3 separate regions of the Homo sapiens genome follow, and all the other regions are linked to region 3. Evidence: promoter capture Hi-C in 16 types of primary human blood cells and fetal thymus (Javierre and others, 2016). All regions are on one chromosome and are shown on one strand. The core of a region is centred on a gene start or on the middle of the fragment in contact, and the rest is flanking DNA. Distances in the headings are between cores, read along the strand shown. Region 1 overlaps ZNF772 (zinc finger protein 772). Region 2 holds the start of VN1R1 (vomeronasal 1 receptor 1). Region 3 holds the start of SLC27A5 (solute carrier family 27 member 5).

The links. The method cuts DNA at HindIII sites, captures the fragments that hold promoters and counts their contacts. A CHiCAGO score of 5 or more calls a contact.
Region 1: a contact is called between a fragment that was not itself captured here and the fragment with the promoter of SLC27A5 in region 3, in 3 of 17 cell types (M1 macrophages, total CD4 T cells and total B cells). The highest score is 6.6, in M1 macrophages.
Region 2: the fragment with the promoter of VN1R1 here is called in contact with the fragment with the promoter of SLC27A5 in region 3 in 1 of 17 cell types (total CD4 T cells); the score reaches 6.3 in total CD4 T cells.

What each region holds. Positions count from the first base shown.
Region 1 is chr19:57,471,975-57,476,030 of GRCh38, forward strand. ZNF772 (zinc finger protein 772) reads right to left here. Exons shown (of 4, transcript NM_001144068.2): 3 at 3,686-3,812; 4 at 1-2,447. The coding sequence ends at 1,300. Among named protein-coding and RNA genes, the nearest start is that of ZNF772, 3.6 kb to the right of the region's middle. The HindIII fragment of the contact is 6,834 bases long and covers 1-4,056 here.
Region 2 is chr19:57,455,145-57,459,090 of GRCh38, forward strand. It overlaps VN1R1 (vomeronasal 1 receptor 1), which reads right to left and starts at 1,996. Exons shown (of 1, transcript NM_020633.4): 1 at 1-1,996. The coding sequence starts at 1,342. The coding sequence ends at 281. The HindIII fragment of the contact is 5,648 bases long and covers 1-2,429 here.
Region 3 is chr19:58,509,527-58,513,287 of GRCh38, forward strand. SLC27A5 (solute carrier family 27 member 5) reads right to left here and starts at 2,466. Exons shown (of 10, transcript NM_012254.3): 1 at 1,742-2,466; 2 at 1,195-1,404; 3 at 321-479. The coding sequence starts at 2,429. It overlaps LOC105372485 (a long non-coding RNA gene), which reads left to right. Exons shown (of 2, transcript XR_001754024.2): 2 at 258-1,597. RefSeq lists an enhancer at 2,169-2,683. The HindIII fragment of the contact is 7,866 bases long and covers 156-3,761 here.

The DNA of each region.
Region 1 (4,056 bases), core at 580-3,079, 1.0 Mb before region 3:
CCAACATGTATCAAAACTTATCAAATGGTACACTATAAATATGTGCAGTTTATTGCAAAAATGTTTAGACTGACTTCTGGACAGTAACCTTAGCCATAAGAGACACAGGTATGGAAATATTTCTGTAAACCCTCATAATGGAGCCAGAGTAATGGAAACACATGTGGATGTACCTTTAGAAGGGTCATATTCCCTATAGTTTGCTGCAGTTTTCTCATTCCTTTATTAATCTGGGTTTCTGCACCAACTATGATTCCTACCTGGGCCTTCTGGAGGACAGCCAATATCAACTGCCTACTGAAAAATAGACTTCAGAGATCTTGACATGTCCACTGAGTTCAAATTCTCCTCAAGAAGCCTTGGGAATATGAAGTATCTTCTGGGAACAAGGGACGTAATTCATGTTGCTCCCAGACACATTAGAGATTATCACAACAAATGCCCACTGCTTAGGGTGACCTCAATTACACAAAAAATCTTAACATATAGACCAAAAGATTAGGCCTACAAAGACTGGCATTCTTTCCTAGGAGAGCTGAAGCAGTCAAGTAAGTTAGCTTGACACTAGCATAAGAGCTAGTCTTTGCCATCCTACTATCACTTCAGAGATACAGATAGTTGGAGCTCTCACAAAAGCTGTTCTTCCCTTCATACTGGCTTAGCTCAATTCTGTTCTCAACCCAACCCACAAAGCGAACAGAATCCTCAAGATTTCAGATAGTCTAAAAATTAAGGCATTTGTTGCAAAACCAGAATATGAGGCAGCCAATTTCAGGTCAGGTGTCTTGAAGGCTAGAAAAATTCGTCCCAAGTGCCATGTGAGATCAACTATATCCATGAAGGGAAACCTCTGCCAGTGGTCAGCAGAACAAAGCTCCCATTTTTCTGGCTAAAACTGGGTCATGCTCATGCTTAAACCAGTAGTGGGGCAGAAAAAAAGTGAGAATCCTTGATGGCCTCAGGCTACTGATGATTCCCTCCAGGGAAGGGAATAGTACAGAGGTCTGTCTTTTGAAACACATTGGGGTTACTTTGGCACAAGGCAGGACTCTTCCAGCACAAAGACAGATGGCTTCTAACAGGCACTGCCTTGACGAAATTCCAGCAAGAGTCTAGAAAATTCAGCATAGCTCCAGAAGGCTTCCCATATAGCTGGCACTCGGAAGAACCTCCCCAGGGTGAGTGTTTGAGTGTATAAAGTTCTACTTCTGGCTGTCGGCTACACATAAAGGCTATGCTTGGAGCTTCTCTCTGATGTCAGTTATTATGTTGAACAAGGAAACGGAATTATCTCCCATCCTAAGGCCTTTCTCCAGTGTGAATTTTCCAGTGGCGGATGAGGGAAGCCCTCTGCCTGAAGGCCTTCCCACATTCACTGCACTTATATGGCCTTTCTCCAGTGTGAATTCTATGATGCTGAACAAGTACATGTTTGTGGCTAAAGGCTTTTCCACATTCACTGCACACATAAGGCTTTTCACCATTATGAACTCTTTGATGTGCAATAAGGTCAGAGCTTTGGCTAAAGAACTTCCCACATGCGATGCACTCATAAGGCCTTGCTCCAGTATGAACACTCCAATGTTTAATGAGTCTGTATTTGTGACCAAAGTATTTTCCACATTCGCTGCACTCATATGGCCTTTCTCCAGTATGGATACTCTCATGCTGAACAAGTGTAGATTTGTGACTATAGGCTTTCCCACATTCACTGCACTTGTAAGGCCTTGCTCCAGTGTGTACTCTTTGATGTACAATAAGGTTAGAGCTATGATTAAAAACTTTCCCACATATGCCACACTCATAAGGCATTTCTCCAGTGTGGATTCTCTGGTGCTGAGCAAGTATGGGTTTGCGGCTAAAGGTTTTCCCACATTCACCGCACTCATAAGGCCTTTCTCCAGTGTGGACTCTCTGGTGTTGAACAAGTGAGTCTTTGCGGCTGAAGGTTTTCCCACATTCACTGCATTTGTAATGCCTTTTTCCACAGTGAGAGGCCTCCTCACACTTGGTGTTGCTGTGTGGCTTCCACTCATTGTGAGGGGCATGGTGCTCGAAAATGCTTGAGCTGGCTAGGAAGTCCTTACAAGCCTCCCCTGTCACAAAAGACATCTCCATTGATTGCACAGCACAGTTGTTCAGAAGAAAGGGCCTGCTCTTATCACTTCTAAAGGGTTTCTCTCCACTGTGCTGCTTCTGGTGCTGGTGAAGGTTTGCACTGAAGCAGAACTGTTTCCCACACAGCACACACATGTATGGTTTCTGCCCTGGGTGTGTTTCCTGGTGCTCAGCCAAGTGCAAAATGTCTTTTAAGACCAGGCCACATGTCCCACAGGGGTAAGCCTTCTGAGTAGAAGGACCTCCCTTGGGAATCCTGATCTGTGACATTCCTATAGAAAAGCTCTGCTCAAAAGGTATCTCTTCATCCTCCATTCCATGCCAACAACCTGAAAGCAGAGAAATGCTGGTGAAGTACAAATTGACACAGGTGGAAGAGGGGAAGCCTCACTACAAATATGTGTCTAACACAACTAAGACCAAGGTCATAGGACTGTTGTTAGGACAAGGGTCCAAACTCAAGTTCAGCAAATGTGTACTATACGGTAGTTGGCATCTAAATGTCATAGAATGGAGAAGGCCTCAACTGGGAGAGGACAAAGATGTGGGGTACAGCACAAAAAAGAGGCAGGTCTCAAAGTCATTCACAATCAGATTTTCTTGGCTGCTGGGGACAGGTGAGAGTTGTGCAGAAGGTTATGGTCCATACCAAAGAAAATCAAATTGCTACTCAGTAGTTGGTGTTTAAGGACTATTTGGGCTACACATCTCATGAAACACTAAGTACAGGCCAATGCTGGAAGGCACTGTAGAACAAGCCATGGAGAGGAACAGGTGAGACATGAAGGCAGAGGTATGGAACATCCAGAGGCCAAAGGCCAGAGTATGAAAGGCCAGTGGCCTTAGCACTAATACAACTGTAGGCACAAAGAGGCTATGGAATGATATGAACCCAGCCCTGACATCACACCTTTCCCCAGCTCCTACTCACCAGGGTCACTCCCACCTGGAGTCTCTGTGGCAACAGCTAGGGTCATGTCCACCCAGTCAGGTACCCAGGGCTCACTACCCATCACCAGTGAGGCAACTATGTGGGACATGAAAGATGTATGTCCTAAGGGAAAGATAGAACAGCACTGGTCTGGGTAACCCATATAGAAAACTAAATATTATTAAAATAATCTCAGAGTAAGGTCTTGCAGGAATAGTGCAGTGGTCCTAGCAAGTAGCGACCATAATGGTCCCTACAATTCCTGACATAGGCAGGCCACAGGAAATGTCAGCTAAAGGAAGAGCGCAGAATCCCAGGCACAGAGGTGTCATGGATACAGACAGAGGAATTCAGACAGGGAAAGGACAAGATGGATATGACCCACTGGGCTGACAATACAATGCATAACTCCTGAATCCATGCCTGCAAGGCTCTGAGACAGCAAGCGCTGGGAATGCTCAAAAGGAGAAAGTAGGAGTGCAAACAGCCCAAGCCCAGCACTCACAGAACCTACTCCAGGCACTAAGAAATGAGACAGTGTCCACGGCTCTGATGTAGGAAGGACAAAGATGCCCTGAAAAAAAGGGGAAGGGCAGGACCCAGTCCAAGTCACTGGGGTGGATGTGACGGCCTTACCCAGAGAGGCCATAAGTGCAAAGTTCTCCAGCATCACATCACGGTACAGGAGCCTCTGAGCCTCATCAAGGAGCACCCACTCCTCCTGGGAGAAGTACACGAACACGTCCTCAAAGTTCACCTGCCCCTGCCACAATCAGGAGAGCCAAGTCCATGAGCAGCATCTCTCCCAAGAACCCCCATCCGTGCCCCCACACATCTCCCTCCTGTACACCCTCCTACCTAACTCCTCAACTCAGGAAATATCAGGACCAGATGTCATTGGTGTCTTCTCTCGCCTCATGGTCCCAATGGATCACTGTGTCTACCCATAGCAACCACAGGCAGGTGAAGAAGTTGTCACCCTCTAAGCTCTGTGCTTAGCATACAGG
Region 2 (3,946 bases), core at 746-3,245, 1.1 Mb before region 3:
CATAGTACAAAAATGAGAAATCTCCCCTAAATCTCTAAAGAATTCCCTTTTTAAACTTTTTGATTTCCTGAACTTGTCTGAAGGACTTAACACAGTTATATAGAGTGTTCTTTGTGTAACAGTATCCATGACTTTCATTTTTAGCTCTGGTATTAGATCTTCCTGGACAAGAGCATTACTGGCCATGTGTATGTTGCTATCACAAATAACTAGTAGTTAATATTTCCTAAATCTTAGCAAGAGTTATGATAAATAGCTGAATTCCATGAAGAGAAAAGACTCATGGCATGACAACCAGATTAGGAAAGAGTGTTTTCCTTGTCCTGCAGGCAAAACAGAACTGAGAGATATGAGTATCACTCATGATGAGGACAAAAGGGCTGCGTGCTGGGAAACATGAGGCGACCAACACAGAGTTGGTCACTATCCACTGGCCTGGGTTTGCAACTACAGTTGTCCAAATTGTCAGAAAACTATGGACTGAATAGAAAACAAAAAAGGAGCTCACCAGGACCATGATGGTGTGTGTGGCTCTGGCTTCCTGGGAAGGTCTGCAGGAGAGTCTGTTGCTGTGATTGTGTTGGACTTGCTGCTTGTGTCTGTAGAGGAAGAAGACCATGGAGCCACTGGCCCAGACCATGAAGCCCAAACTCATAAAATCAGGGGAAAAATATAAGACTGCATGTAATGAGCTAAATCTCTTTGATGCTTTGTAAGAACAGTATCCATAATTGTTTTTTGCACTACTGTTTTTGCTATTCAGTGGGCCATTCACTAATAGAAGAACAGATGCATTCATCAAGACATGGGGGGCCCAGCAGAGGAGACAACAGAAGTCAATAAACCTTGGGGATCTAATCTTGATCTCCATCCACCTGCATATACTGGGGTTGAGCTTAATGGCTTGGAATCCATTGAGAAGGCAGATGGTGCTGAGGGAAACTCTTGTGCCCACCCTGTGATAATAAAAGACAAACTTACATCCAGTGTCATTCAGCAAATATTTCAATCCAAAAGCTGCCATTGTCTGAGGTATCCCTTTAAAGAAAAGGACCATGGAGTTAGCCAAGGCCAGTTGGCTGAGAATCAAGTCCGTGGGTCTCAGCTTGTGTCCAGTGAACAAAATTAAGTTATAAAAACAAAGGAGAAAGGAATTTCCCAGGATCCCAACTCCAGTCTGAATGAGGAAGCTAATCCCTGATTTTACTTTTCCAAAAGCCATTTCATCAAAATCTAGGGGATGTTGATTTTCATTGAGGTCTGAAGAATCAGTAGAATAAAAAAGCAGAAAGAAGTATCTTGTCATCAGTGGAGACAGAAGTTTTAATGTGTCTCCAACCATATTTTCTCATCTTAAACAGAAATTAAGATTGTCCCTGTTCGTGCAAAGGCAATTGCTTGTGTGTCCAACTGCAGAGAAGCAGGTGAATGAATGAGGGCTCAACCGCACAACAGATCCACAAATCAAACCTATAAAACTCAGGGCTTACACACATGCAACAAGTAAATACAAGCAAAACTAGGGAAATATATAAAAACAGAACACAGAAGAGTCAATATCATTAGAGTGATATTATACTATAGTTTGCAAAATGTAATCATGACGGAACCCTGGGTAATATGGACAGGGCTTTTTCTGTATTATTTCTTATGACTGCTTGTGAGTCTACACTTATTTCAATAAAACCTTCAATTAAGTAGCCTGGAGATATGAAAAGCAAAAATAATACACCATAAAACCTTTTCCACACTAATATTTTAGTAAACACCATTGTTATTGATGCATTGAAACAAATTTTAGGCCGGGTGCAGTGGCTCACACCTGTAATTCCAGCACTTCGGGAGGCCAAGATGGAGACCATCCTGGCCAACATGGTGAAACCCTGTCTCTACTAATAATACAAAATACTAATAATACAAAAATTAGCCGGGCATGGCGGCGCGTGCTAGTCCCAGCTACTCGGGAGGCTGAGGCAGGAGAATCGCTTGAACCTGGGAGGCAGAGGTTGCAGTGAGCTGAAATCAAACCATTGCCCTCCAGCCTGGGCGACAGAGCGAGACTCTGTCTCAAAAAAAAAAAAAAAAGAAATTAAAAAAACGCTACAATACAATTGGTAACAAGGCCTTCAGCACAGTACAAATGCTAACTTGAAGAATTTTTAAAAACTATAATTTTTGGAACAATCAACATTGCATCATGGTATATTTTATTTTAAGCACATATATTTCTGTTATTTTCCACCGGACAGGTCTAGAGATTGTGAATTGACTCCGTAGAAATAACCATGACCACCTTGAGCCCACACATTTTTATCTCAATGCCATTTCTCACAAGTAAATGCAAAAGATCCTGAAAATAAATACTAATCCCAGAAACACCTAAGATATCCTTAAAACTTGTTAAATAGGAAATTCAATATGTTCCAGAAAGCTTGGGTTTATTTTTAGGGAAAGATAATTCAATTGGGAGGGAATTTCATTGCACAATATTCATATATATCAATCACAAAAGAAATAGTAACTGCGGCCAGGCACGGTGGCTCACGCTTGTAATCTCAGCACTTTGGGAGGCTGAGGCGGGTGGATTACAAGGTCAGGAGATGGAGACCATCCTGGCCAACATGGTGAAACCCCGTCTCTACTAAAAATACAAAAATTAGCTGGGTGTTGTGGTGCGTGCCTGTAGTCCCAGCTACTCGGGAGGCTGAAGCCTCCTGGGTTCACGCCATTCTCCTGCCTCAGCCTCCTGAGTAGCTGGGACTACAGGCGCCCACCACCACGCCCGGCTAGTGTGTGTGTGTGTGTGTGTGTGTGTGTGTGTGTGTTTAGTAGAGACGGGGTTGCACCGTGTTAGCCAGGATGGTCTCGATCTCCTGACCTCGTGATCCGCCCGCCTCGGCCTCCCAAAGTGCTGGGATTACAGGGATGAGCCACCTCGCCCGGCCATAATTTAGATTCTTTTGGTGTCTCTATGGAATTGCTATCATCAGGGAAAATTATGAGGTATTTTCTCCCATGAATAACTACATCTCTTTAGGGGTGGAGCAATCAATAACACAGCAGTATCAAGATTCTCAGGCGAGAGGTGGCTCACGCCTGTAATCCCAGCAGTTTGGGAGGCCGAGGCTGGTGGATCAGCTGAGGTCGGGAGTTCGAGACCAGCCTGACCAACAGGGAGAAACCCCGTCTCTACTAAAAATACAAAAATTAGTCAGAGGTGGTGGCGCATGCCTGTAATCCCAGCTACTCGGGAGGCTGAGGCAGGAGAATCGTTTGAACCCCAGAGGCGGAGGTTGCAGTGAGCCGAGATCATGCCATTGCACTCCAGCCTGAGCAACAAGAGTGAAACTCGGTCTCAAAAAAAAAAAAAAAAAACTCAGGCTCTGAGGTATGAAAACCTTTTAGATTCCCACAAACCACTTGTTGACAAATGTTTTTCCTATTTATATGAACTCATCATTTATTTTCAAGATAGTTCCTGATTCTTTGCTTTAATCTCTTATTTTGCTCCATTGTCCTAGTTGTATAATTTATTTCCAATATGCATTTGGTTTCCTATTTTTTCAGCTTCTCCTTATAAAGTACCATTTTTACTATGACTATTTTGAAAGCTTCTTGTATGTATAAAGTTAGTGTGATTATTGACTTTAACATACCACCTCCTTCTCCTCCTAGCCTCAGAAAGAAGTGTTGGTAACTGGTGAGAATTTTCAGACAGATTTTCCTTTTTTTTTTTAATTTAATTTAATTTTTTTTTCTTTCTTTGCTTTCTTTTTTTTTTTTTTTTGAGACAGAGTCTCACTCTGTTGCCCAGGCTAGAGTGCAGTGGCGCTATCTCGGCTCACTGCAAACTCCACCTCCCACGTTCAAGCGATTCACCTGCCTCAGCCTCCTGAGTATCTGGGATTACAGGCGCCTGCCACTGCGCCTGGCTAAATTTTTTTTG
Region 3 (3,761 bases), core at 1,216-3,715:
TCCAGCTGCCCTTGGGGCCATGTCACAAATCTGGGCCAGCATCCCCATCATCTCCTGAGCACCACACCTTCCTTGGATGCCTGTGACCATCACTCGTATCAGGTCTTGTCACCTCCTGACCAAAGCATGGCCATCAGGGACTGTGTGGGTGTCCAAGCTTCTGTCCATGCGGCCCTGGTAGTCATTGGTGGGTGTCCCTTCTCAAAAGTGAGAACACAGGGTGCTGGGTAACCTATGGTGTCTTTTTGCCTTGACAGCCCCACGCCGACACTTACTCCCGTGGTCCTGTAGACTGGAGGGATCCTCAGAAGTGGGCTTACCGAGATCTAAGCAGCCGAGGATCCCAACGACAAGTCCCATCACGTGGTACAGAGGCAGGACCGTGTAAACCACATCATCAGCTGTGGCCCCAGATAAGGACAGCATCTTGCTCATCTGCAGTACCCGCTCATGCGTGAGGATGGCTGGCTTCGGGAGGCCTTGGGATGAAGGCATGGCAAGGGCAGGGTGGTGACATGACAGCACAGAGAGGGGCCTGACCAGAGGGATAGATCTCCAACAGCCAGGCCTACATTGGGGTTTGAGGCTCTCAGAGAACAGTCAAGTATAGGGATTTGTGGTTGGGTTCACAGGCTGAATTTGGACTGAAAGTAATATGTCAAGATCAAAGGTTTCAGTGGCTGTTTACTGGACACAGGAAGAATTCTGGCATTGACCTCTCAAATTACATTGGGGGTCAGAGTTCAGGCCAAATATCAAAATCAAGTCTGGGAGCAGTGGCTCACGCCTGTAATCCCAGCATTTTGAGAGGCTGAGTTGGGCAGGTCCCCTGAGGTCAGGGGTTAGAGACCAGCCTGGCTAACTTGGGGAAACCCTGTCTCTACCAAAAATACAAAAATTAGCTGGGCATAGTGGTGTGTGCCTGTAATCCCAGCTACTCAGGAGGCTGAGGCAAGAGAATTGCTTGAACCCAGGAGGTGGAGGTTGCAGTGAGCCGAGATTGCACCACTGCAGTCCAGCCTAGGCGACAGAGCGAGACTCTGCCTCGAAAAAAAAAACAGCCAAACAAAAAACAAATGTCAAAATCAGAGGGTAAAGTGGTTTCAGAGGTCAACACTGAGTCACAAGTCAAGTGTGGGGTCAGGTCAGCCTGAGAGTTCAGAGGCTGGTGCTAGGGCTAATGGGCACCCTCACCAGTGGTCCCCGAGGTATAGATGAAGAGGGCAGGGCTTCTCCATGTGATCCCAGCACGCAGGTCAGCAGGCACTGGGTGGGAGGGCGCTGCATCCAGGGCAGCCCCCAGAGCCCCCACCCCTGGTGTAGGGGAGGTATGGCTGAGGTAGAAGCAGCGGATGTTCTCAGCCTGCAGCTTGGGAAGGATCTCCTCCAGGCTCTCCCGGAGGTCTGCAGAGATGGGTCAGAGGAGAAACAGAGGCAAGGCTCACCTTTGAGGTTGCGAGGCGGGATCTGAGACCCACAGATGCAGGCAGAGGAGCAGCTAGTAGAGAAAAGCATCCATGTTGTTTGGTAAAGAATCCCATCATTAGTATTTTTGGTCAAATTGTGGGAAAATTAAACTCTGATGACCTGAGAACTACTTTCTGCTCATAAGTCTTGATTATAATTGCCTGTGAAAGTAGGCAGGTGGGGACCAAGGGCCTCTGCCAGTCCCAGCAGAACCCCTGTCCTATAGTCCCTGCCCTTGCCCCCTTCCATTCTCCACTGGCTCCAAGGCCCTCACCTGGGTCCACCACCAGCACCCGGGCCCCAGAGCTCAGCACAGAGTGCGCCAGGGGCATCCCCCGGCCATGCGGGTTGATCCAGGCTGTTGGGCAGCCCAGCTTGGCCAGCCCCAGCCACATACACAGGGCTGGAACGGCCTGGGAAGCCAGCACAAGGAGGGCAGTAGGCTCCCCGGCACACAGGCTCGCAGGGTCACCCAGCTCAGCCTTCAGGGCCCATGCCGCCTGGCAGGCCCGGGCATCCAGCTCACCAAAGGTGACTGAGCCGGCCCCAGGCCCCGTCCACACCAAGAGTGCCCTGCCAGGCTGCGCTCGTGCTCGCCGCTCGAAGGCATCTACAAAGGTGTCAGGCGGCTGCCGGCTCAAGCATCCCCTGATCTTCAGGCCCAGGTGGAGGATCTTGGCCAAGAAGATCACATCAGCCGGCAGCCAGCGTAGTCCTGGGGGCAGCCGTGCTGGCAGGAGGGTTAGTGCCAGGGCCGCAGCTGCCAGGCTCAGCCCATGGGGCACCCAGGGGCCGAGCCAGGGCCGTGCTAACATGGCCAGCCCAAGTAGCACGCAACATGTGGGATCCCCCAGGAGCCAGCGCAGGGTCAAGGCCACAGCGACTGGCCACACTGGCTGCCCCAGGCCCCAGAGCAGGAGCAGCAGCAGCAGCAGCAAGGCCAACTGTTGCCTGACACCCATGGTACCAGCTCCTCCCTAGGAGCAGCAGCTGTGGAGTGTTCAGGCTCACCTCTGGCCCCTCAAGAGTAGCCCAATGGCTCCTCCCCAGGGGTGGTGGCCCTGGCACTGCTGACAGTGGCTGGTCCTCTCCCCAGGACTTTGCCCCCAGCCCTTCTCCTCTACGTTTGTTTGCTCTGCCTGGTCTTGTGTGTGGGTCCAGCCCCTCTCTGCCTGGCGCTAACCCTTTCCATCACTGGCCTCTGGGTTCCCAGGTCTCTGCCCCTTGGGCACCACTAGCCTCCTTCCTGCTGTCCTGCTTGCCCCATCCACCCTCCAGGGCTGGCATCTAACTCCCTTGCCTCCCCTCCCATCCCTGCTGGGTACCAGACACTCAGAGCACAGAAATCCCTGCCCTTGGGAACACTCCAATCAGGCCAAACAGAAAAGCAACAGGACAGCAAGGTGGACCTCATTGGGAGGTCCTCCTGTGACACCCACTGAAACCCTGAGGAGAGGGGCTCAGCCAGGCTAAGCCCCTTGTCCCATGATCCGAGGAATCGTACCCTCCTGCCAGGCATACAGCAAGTGCTCAGTAAATACAGGAACACTGGCATCGCCTGGATTCAAACCCAGCTCTGCCCCCCACCCATGTGCTTGCTCTGACTCTCTGCTCCACCTCTGGCTTTGACGACGATGGAGTCCTGGGGTTCAGGAGACTGAAGTCAGCCCATGATGCACACAGTTGGATCATGAAAGCCCTGGCCTCTCACCTTGAGGAAGCAGTCTCAGAAGGTGAACCCAGAGGAGCTGCCATTGGCCTAGGAGCCTGGCAGGTCAGGCTGGGGTATGGCCTGGGGCCATACCCCACTCCACCAGCTCCAAATCCTTATGGCAGGGCACCTAGGCTAGGAGCCACTATTGTGCTGAAGAGGAGAGGGGCAAAGAGTGGCTGCTCTCTCCGCTGGATGCAGGGGCCTGGGACACTGGCTGGCCAGTAGGGGTGGTGTCCCCAACCGCCCAGCAGTCAGCCCCAGGATCCCACCCCTCACTGTTTCCTGCCCCCAACACGGCCATCGGAGCCCTCCCTGAACTTTGCCCCCAGCACCAAGGGCAGATATATGGGGGCTTATATACCCTCAGTGCAACCTGGCCCCAAAGATCCCCCTGGGCTCCCCACAAGTAAGGTGCTCAGCCATGTCCATCAAGGTCGGGGAGGGGAAGTCTTAAGTCCAAAAGACCCTTAGAGCCTGACTGGAAGATCTATGGGAGGGGCCTTAAAGGTCGTGGACAGCAGCAACCAGGAGTATGATGGGGCTTTCACGTGGCCTCCCTCTCGGAGACCCACCTCAGATG